Linked DNA regions of Homo sapiens: all the other regions are linked to region 2. Evidence: promoter capture Hi-C in 16 types of primary human blood cells and fetal thymus (Javierre and others, 2016). All regions are on one chromosome and are shown on one strand. Each heading gives the region's core, a stretch centred on a gene start or on the middle of the fragment in contact. The rest is flanking DNA. Distances are from core to core; before and after follow the strand shown. Region 1 overlaps LOC107987026 (a long non-coding RNA gene). Region 2 holds the start of KLHL9 (kelch like family member 9). Region 3 has its middle 26 kb from the start of MTAP.

Region 1 (2,995 bases), core at 80-2,579, 420 kb after region 2:
TCTCAAAAGGAAGAAGGGGGTATCAAGTTCCCCACCCCTCCTCCTTGGTTTTCATTATGTCCCCTCATTGTTTTTTATTTCAAAATTCGAATAATGTGCAAGCTTTGATACATCCAGGTTTTTAATCCTGCCAAGAAAACATTGTACTTTTGAGATAATCAAGTAGACAGCACTACTCTTAATCTTGACAAAAAGAAAAGAAAAAATAAATAAACCACAGAGCTGATGAGAAGACCCTAAAGGACTCAGAGCTTGTAATGACACACATTATTTCCTTTAGTTTGAGTTTTTCCTTTCATGAAGAAAACTCTAAGATATACAAAAATAGTTCTTTATGGCTTGAAGCTCTTATATTGCTAATGGCTTTTGACAGTGGTATTACAGCTTGTTTAATCCAATTGAATTTGATTATTCATTCAGTAAGAAGATAAATTAGTTGACAGAGGAAATGTTTTTCAGTCACTGGTTCATATTAATGTCTGAAAATTCAGTTGTCCAGAAAAAAAGAGATAGGGGTAGAAGAGAAGCCAAAGAGATATAATTCTAATCAAGGATTTTCCTGAAATTTGAATTTGACTATGAAGAAAGTATTGATTGTGGGGAGAAATAATGTTAATTCCCTAAAACACAGGGTGAGAACTTTTTAATGGAGTACACATTACTCATCAAAATATAGTCCCAAACTATATTATCAAACATGTCTAACCCACTTTACACACATACACACACACACACACACACACACACCACCCTACGATGCAGTTATATGAATCTTTATTGTTTACTAAACATAATACATTTCCTCCTTCCCCACTTACGTGCCTTTGCACATTGTATTCTTTGTATCCTCTTCCTAGAATGCTCTTCTTTAAATTGATAAACTTATCCTTCAAAATGCAACAAAAATACCACCTTTTCAATGAAGTCCTTCAGAATCCCCCCAGTGTCCCATAGAAATTTGCATATCCTCTTAATTCAATGTCCTGCAACCTTCTTTGCACATTAGCACCCCTGGGATTTGGCATGATCCTATCAGTAATGCTGTCTCAGTGGGGTTTTATATGAGAAGGGGCTTTCTATGGGTGAGGCAACAATGGTTCTCTCTTGTGAGGTTGAAATTTCCAGGGTATGAGTTTAATTTGAAACACCCACAACTCCCCTTCCCCACCCCTACCCCAGCATAAACTCTGGCATATCCACTTCCTATTCCATGGACAATCACTGCTTCACTGCTCCACTTATTACTGTTGTCATAACATCTTGTGAATATTTGTTTCCGCCTCTCTTTCTGATACTAGATGGTATTATTCATTTTTATGGTCAATGTTCCCCTTCTCACAGTGAAGTATTTCACATATAGGAGGTGCTCAATAAATGTTTGTTCTAAGAACAAGGGCATGAATGAATGAGTAAATGCCTGAGTAACAGAATGATTTCTAGGACATCATAGGATTCGGCATCCTTAACTGGTGAAGAGATGAACCAAAACACAGTTATACTCTTGTGCAGGGAGTGGTCTGGGTAGCTTTAATTTGTCAGTAACCCCCAGCCACATGTTGCTATTGTGTATCTGAAGTGTGAATAATCTGAATTGAGATGTGCTGTGAGTGTAAAACTTCACACTGGATTTAGGAGACAGTATAAATACCTATATATATATCTACATATATATAAAATATATCAGTATCAAAAAGCAAAACATCTCAATTTTTATGTTGATTACTTGTTGAGATATTTTGATCTATTGAGTTGAAGTATATTAGTAAAATTAATTTCACCTGTTTCTTTTTATTTTTCTAATGTGACTGGTAAAAAAAAATTGCATATGTAGCTCACATGGCATGCATTATATTATATTTCTCTTGAACAGCACTGGTCTTAAGAAATGAATCTCAGGCCCTGAATGGTTGAGTCTAACTTTGGCCCACTCAGATGAAAGTCTCTGTGCAGGCAAACGAAGGAAGTTGATGTGCACACTGATCTCCTTGAAAGTGCATTGAAGCTATACTGAAGAGCACTGGGATCAACAGTAATCTTTCAATAATTTCTGGTTCTCCACTATTTTCCAGGTATCTAATCTGATCCACACTTCTCACTGCGCTTCTTATCACATATCATTAGGTATTAGTTGTGTGCACCCTTCACCTCAGCACCAAGGCTGTGTTAGCTTCACTCTTAAGGTCCTTCACCTACTAATAACTTTCCCTTTACCGGGACAACACAGATGCTGCCCAAGCTGCAGTCTTCCTATCCCCTACCCCCAAGTATCTTACTGAGGCACCCCTTGCTATGGATTCCCATTGCACTGATAGCATTTTCAACATTATATTGTAATTTGCTGTGTGTCTCAATAACTAGCCTATAAGTTCTTTGAAGGCAGAGACTCTCACAATCAATATTTAAATGTTACACACCAAGAGAATAAATCAGTTCAGTGATGATCTAATTTGCCCATAAATTTCCATCAAACATCTGCCCTAGAGAAATCATACTTCTTTAAAAAAAAAACATATATTATCTGACATAAAGAAAACATATCAAAGCCCTAGCTGGAATCAAGCTTGATGACTAAAATCTACTTAATCCTCAAAAAGCCTTGTGTCAGGACCCACCTTCTGCAAAAGCATTACAGTTTATTATGGAAAAGCGATTGCTAAAACACGTTGGCTTCCTTTTTCCTGTCAGGAGATCTCATTCCAGTGTTAACCTGAGGAGCCTGCATATATTTGCCTTTGTCCCAGAAATATATAAGTGTTCCTGTGCTGTGGAGAATTAGGCACTGGGAAGTTAAGAGAGGGAGAGAGAGAGAGCCCAGAATTGGAGTCCCAGTCTTCTAAATGCAACCTATAGCTTGGAAATAAATTAGACTTTTAAAGACAGATATTTATTGGAGGTACTCCTAACAAATTTTTACCTACTCAAGAAACCTGAGTCATAATTCTCATATTCCATTCTGGTCTACCTAACCTCAGCACACTTATGTGACTACTAAAAT
Region 2 (2,936 bases), core at 231-2,730:
AACCAGCTGCTGCCTCAAAACTCCTCCTAATGTAACCAAGTGAGTGGAGTCAGATCGAATGGCAGTTCTATCTGACTGCATCACTGGCTGCATATATGGCATCATTTGGTAATTGCTAGCTTCCAAAAGCAAATTCACGCAGGTATTGTCTGTTCTCATGAAATCTACTGTCTGCACGTAATTGATGAGATCCTGTGGTGTCATCAGTGGAAATCGAATATTCTTCATTAACTTTGCAGCATAATCCATCCGAGGGTCTTCCAACCTTAGCCAGCGACAGGCTGCCTTAAAGAGTTCAAGTTCGGTACAGTGCTTAAGACTATTACTGGAAAGCACAAATGCAAGTCGTTCAAAAGGGAGTTTTAGAAACTCCCCAGTACTCAATAAAGCAGGAAAGTTCTTCAGGATGAAATTATTAACATATTTATCCACTTCTATAAGATTGTAGGTGTTAGCAATTCGTCCAACCTCAACACAGTTATCCAAAGAGACTCCTGATATAAGAAATACTTTACAGAAATCCAAAACGGGTAATATTTGTAAAAAGCTAGCAGCTTCAAGTGTGTCCTGAAGATTGTCCATATTAAGAGAAAGTTTTGCAGTATAAATAAAATCAATGATTTTCTTCAGACCAACCTTGTTCACCCCATGAAGCTTAATGCACATCAAATCTTGTTCTTTCATTCCACCTGTGAACATGGCTTTGAAATAATCACTAGCAGACGCCATCATAGCTCTGTGAACAGGGAAGATTTCATCTCCATCACCTGGTACCAGGGTCACATCACAAAGCAATCCTTCTATTCTAAGCTGATCAAAGCCTTGCAATACCACCGAACTGTGAGTATTGCTGGTAAAAAAGCGTGTGGTTCCTGCCTTACAAGGCTGCAAATGGGCAGAGACGCCCATTTCGCCGTTACCAAGGGACACTTTCATGTGAAAGCTTTCCTCTTGCACAGAGATGCAAGCCGGATAAAGAAGTTATAACCGGAATGTTTTACAGGTAACGAGGTGTCCAGAAAGAACAGAAAGCTCGTTTCCTTATCAAGGGAAGGCAGTCACTGCGGCACCCCTCGGGCCACGCCAGTCAGTCATCCACTGAAAATCACCCTGTAGCAGGACCACAAAGGGCTGTGGACCTCAAATCTGATTATTAGACAGATGATTCATCACCTGAAGGCGGTTAAATGACCTGGTTCACCTCGTCCGGCCTGCGCTGCCGCTCCTTCAGCAGTTCCGCTTCGGGCAAGGAAGAGGCGCCGCCACGTACTGTGGCTCCACGGCCCGCTCGGCGGCGGGTCCGGACACCTCAGCGAACGGCCCGCTGCGCCCTCCGCTGTACCTAGAGTGTCGCAGCGGCCACCGGCCTGTCTTTGAGCAAGGGCCGGGAACACAGGCCTGGGCCTGGGCTTGGGCCTAGAATACCGGCCTAGCCCCAACACCGAGCCGCTCCTTCCGGAAAAGCCTAGTCCCAGGATACCACGGGGTGGGAGCGGCCTTAGCGGCTACTGCGGCTGCGCGGCCTCCAGACCTCGTCAGTCAGCGGGAGGGTGGGGGTGGGGAAGGGGGAGGAAGTACCCGGGAGGCGGGAGGGCGAGGGTTGGGGAAGCGGAGCTGTGTGGGGTGGGCGCCAGCCCGGCCTCTTAGAGCTGCCTTGTATGTGGGACCAAATAGGACAGAATGTGTGCAAGCAAGTGTGTTATGCTGCACGTTTGATATAAGTTTTTCGCATATCTGAGCTCTTACGTTCCCCAAATGCATAATTTTTCAAAGCTTTACGCTTCCTAGCTTCTGTTTTTTTGAATAACAGTGAAATGCGGCATTTGTATAAATTGAGAGGAAACCTGGATGCTTAATTTTTTTTTTCCTCTACAAAACAATAATTGTTATCCCACATTATGTAGTAGATACTTCAGTTACAATTTTGGTTCATATTTTCAAATTTGTTACAATTTCAAACGCAAAATATTTGTCTTTACTAGATTGTTACTTTATTATGTAAATGATATATTCTAAATTTTTGGCTTGAAATGCCTTTGTTTTCCACAATTTTAAAAATGGCTACATAATTTTCCAATAACTATACATACTATAGTTTCCTTTGCCCATTGGTTTGTTCCTGAATGTGTACCTTCTTATCCTCCATTGTTTTATAGACTCGGTAGTAAACTTATACAATCTGGTAGCAAAATTTTAGCCCTGTTATGGATAATATTTAGTAAAATACTGATCCAAGACAATATTTCCAAAATATTATCACCAACAATGTTTGTGTCTTTCCCTTCTTCTGACTTTTCCCTTTGTGAGTATTTTATTAACTTGCATTTCTTTAATTAGTGGTAAATTTAAATTTTGACATACAAATAAATGTATACTTTGACACAATTTCTTCCATTTTCCAAATTTTGAAGTTTCTGTCTTTTAAATCCTTCTAGTTCTTTATGCATATGCAAAGTAAGAATGTAGTCATGTTTTTCTTACACTCGCCTCGTTTTTATGTAAAAGATAGCATACCATGTACACTGTTCTGCATCTTTTTTTTTCACTTCAAGATCTTCCTGAATTAGTGTAGAGGGCTTATTTATATTTTTAAACAATTCTGTTGTTGCCTTCTGAGTTGTTACATCATAAGTTATTTAACCAGTGCCCTGTTGATGGGCAGTTCATCTGTTTTGAATGTTTTCTATTGTTTCCAAGGGATGGCAGCAAAATTCAGAAGGCTTAGACTACCACTGTCCTCCACAAGGTGCTCCAGCAGATTGTCACCTTATTCAACACAAGAGGTTGGTTGGAATGAAACTGGCCTGGAGAAATTATTCACTGAATTTTTATCAGCATTGGGAAGTCCTGGAGCCCTGCTTGTTGAATGAGTTAGGGGTGGAAGGGCTCTCTCAGGCCATGACAACTCCCTAATGCTGTGAAGAGCTACTTCCAAG
Region 3 (2,710 bases), core at 102-2,601, 440 kb after region 2:
GAGCCAGGCACCATGGCTCTTGCCTATGATCCCAGCACTTACGAAGCCTGAGGCAGGAAGATCGCTTGAGCCCAGGAGTTCAAGATCAGCCCAGGCAACATAGCAAGACACCCCATCTCTACAAAAAATAGAAAAAAATAACCACGTGTGCTGGTGCATACCTGTAGTCTCAACTACTCGGGAGTCTGAGGTGGGAGGATTGCTTGAGCCCGAGAAGATAAAGCTGTGGTGGGCCGTTACCATGCCACTGCACTCCAGACTGGGTGATAGAGTAAGAGCTTTAAGAAAAAAAAGAAGGAAAGAAAGAAAGAGAGAGAGAGAGGAAGGAAGGAAGGAAGGAAGGAAGGAAGGAAGGAAGGAAGGAAGGAAGGAAGGAAGGAAAGAAGGAAGGAAGGAAGGAAGGAAAAGAGAAGGAAAAAAGTCAAATTTGAGAAAATAAAGAAAAAGGATAGTGCCTAGACATTTGATTGTGCAGTTTAGGGGATGGATAAGCCAAGGGGAATCCATATAAAGAGCAGATGTGAGAAGAAAAAAAAATTTTGGTTTTAACATGTTATGCTTCTTAGATACACAAATGAATGTACCTACTAGGCAATTGGATATTTAAACCTAGAGCTTAGGAGAAAGGACGGAGGGGGATTATCATCAGCATGAAGATGCTGTGTGAGGCCATGTGCCTGGATGAAATGGTCTAGGGAGTGAGTACAGGCAGTGAAGAAGGCAGGACCAAGCAAGAACATCAAGCTGGAGTGCTCTAATATTGAGAAAGGTAGAGTGTGCAGAGAAAACCAGGATGCAACAGCTGTGTGATGGAACAACAACTAGGAGATAGTGGTATCCAGAAGGGCTCGAGAAGAAAATGCTTCAGGGTGGATGATGATTGTGCCAAATCTGCTGTGAGGCTGCATAAAATGAAGATTGAAAATTAACTGCTGCTCTTAGCAACAGGGAGATTGCTGGTGATTTTGACAGAGCAATTTCAGGAGAGTGATGAGGACTAAATCCCAACTTGAGTGGGCTAAAGAGATGAGAAGTGAGAAAGTGAGAGCGAGTACAGAAAAGTCTCAAGAAACTTGCTATGAAGAAGAGTTGAGGAATGCAACTGGAGCTAGAGTGCAACCAGAAGTCTAGGAAAGGATTGGGTTTGTTTTGCTGAGATGGGGGTCTATTTGTAAGCTGATGGGAATGATCTACAGTAAGAAGGGAGAGTCATGTTCAGGAGAAAAAAGATGATTAGAGGAGTAAAGCCCTGGCACAGGTGGAAGGGGGTGAGAAGCCAGGCTGCAGGAGCTGTTTATCGTCTGTGACCAAAGAGAAGATGGAACACTTGGGTGTGGAGCAAGGAGGTTGGTAGATTTGGTAAAGGGAAAAGGAAGTAGTTCTCTTCTGCTTACTTCTATTTTCTTATGAAATAAAAATCTAGGTTATCAGCTGAGAGTGAAGACAAGGAGGGAATGTTGGAGGTTTAAAAAGGGGGGAAGATATCAAACAGTTGTCTGGACAAAGAACTGACCAGAGAATTCTACTATAAAAAATTTATTGAAGTGCTGAGGACCCACCAGAGATTTGTGGCCAAAATGTAAAGTAAATGTGTGTGTTGTTCTCTCATCCCATTTAGCTGCCTGAATGCAGATATAGATTAAGCAGAGTTAAATATAACCAGGGTTTGGGTTTTGCTAGGCAAATATAATGGAGAGAGAGAAGGACAAAAGAGTTGAGGGTACATAGAGAAGAGTTATAGTGACAAACCATGGAATCTAAGACGAGTAGGGAAAAAGGTAAAGAAAAGCGAGGGAGATGATTAGGACAAAGACTGGGAGTGGGTCCATGGATTACTTGAATGATGTTGTACTTAAGAGAGGAGTCAGAAAGAGATGCTGTGAATATCAGAAAGTGGAATGATGAAAAACTAGATATTGGAGGCTACTTATAATGACAAACTCTAGGGTATGACTAGGGTGAACATGATGGGGTTGGGGAAAGAAAGAGATGTTGGAGTCAGAAGGTCAAATAATTGAAAAGGCTTACTGAGAAACTGATCTAAGTAAGTAGTGCTGAACCCTGCTGCATATTGAGATCATAGGTGTTGTGGGGTTTTTTTTTTTTTTTTTTTTTTTAGAGCAAAACAAAATCTAGTGGCTAAATCCTACCTTGACTAAATTAAATCAGTACCTGTTTGGCTTGGGGGATGAACTGAACACAGGTAGGATTTTTAAAACATCATGAGGTAATAAAAATGTGCAGCCAAATTTGAAAAATAATGACATACATAAATTTTGAAGTCATTAAATATGATGACAGGAGTCATGGTAGAAGGAAATGCAATGAGCCAGCTGCTAAAATCTTCCATCATGAAGTGGAATGGCTTGGAAGATAGGAGATGAAGGGTTTTTGAAAGAAGAAAAACAATGAGAAATAAGGAACATTCCTATCCCCACCTCCAGGACCTGGAAGCATAGGGTGTGGGAGCAAAAACCACCACCCCCTGCAAAGGCTGAAGGTAAACAGGATATGGGTTGGGTTGGGTGGTGAGCCAGGGCTTAGAGCAAGAAGGTGAAGGTGTTGTTCAAAGAAGAGTTGGAAAATAAAAGAGACTGTGCTTCCCAAGCCCTGAATTCTAGCAGCTGCATTGGAAGGGATTGCAGTTTTGGAAGGAATGGGAGATTGAGTCAGATCAAGGGATATACAGAAACATATGGAGGAGAGTTCC

Evidence for each region. Contacts are between HindIII fragments. The CHiCAGO score rates a contact against its expected background, and 5 or more counts as called.
Region 1: a contact is called between a fragment that was not itself captured here and the fragment with the promoter of KLHL9 in region 2, in 2 of 17 cell types (M2 macrophages and M1 macrophages). The highest score is 6.5, in M2 macrophages.
Region 3: a fragment that was not itself captured here is called in contact with the fragment with the promoter of KLHL9 in region 2 in 7 of 17 cell types (non-activated CD4 T cells, naive CD8 T cells, total CD4 T cells and 4 more); the score reaches 9.0 in non-activated CD4 T cells.

The regions. Positions count from the first base shown.
Region 1 is chr9:21,755,079-21,758,073 of GRCh38, forward strand. All of the region lies in intron 1 of LOC107987026 (a long non-coding RNA gene), which reads right to left. Among named protein-coding and RNA genes, the nearest start is that of MTAP, 46 kb to the right of the region's middle. The HindIII fragment of the contact is 2,458 bases long and covers 101-2,558 here.
Region 2 is chr9:21,333,924-21,336,859 of GRCh38, forward strand. It overlaps KLHL9 (kelch like family member 9), which reads right to left and starts at 1,481. Exons shown (of 1, transcript NM_018847.4): 1 at 1-1,481. The coding sequence starts at 936. LOC107987053 (a long non-coding RNA gene) reads left to right here. Exons shown (of 3, transcript XR_001746634.2): 3 at 2,698-2,936. RefSeq lists enhancers at 911-960, 1,151-1,460 and a silencer at 1,501-1,670. The HindIII fragment of the contact is 830 bases long and covers 942-1,771 here.
Region 3 is chr9:21,775,297-21,778,006 of GRCh38, forward strand. No RefSeq gene overlaps it. Among named protein-coding and RNA genes, the nearest start is that of MTAP, 26 kb to the right of the region's middle. The HindIII fragment of the contact is 3,504 bases long and covers 1-2,710 here.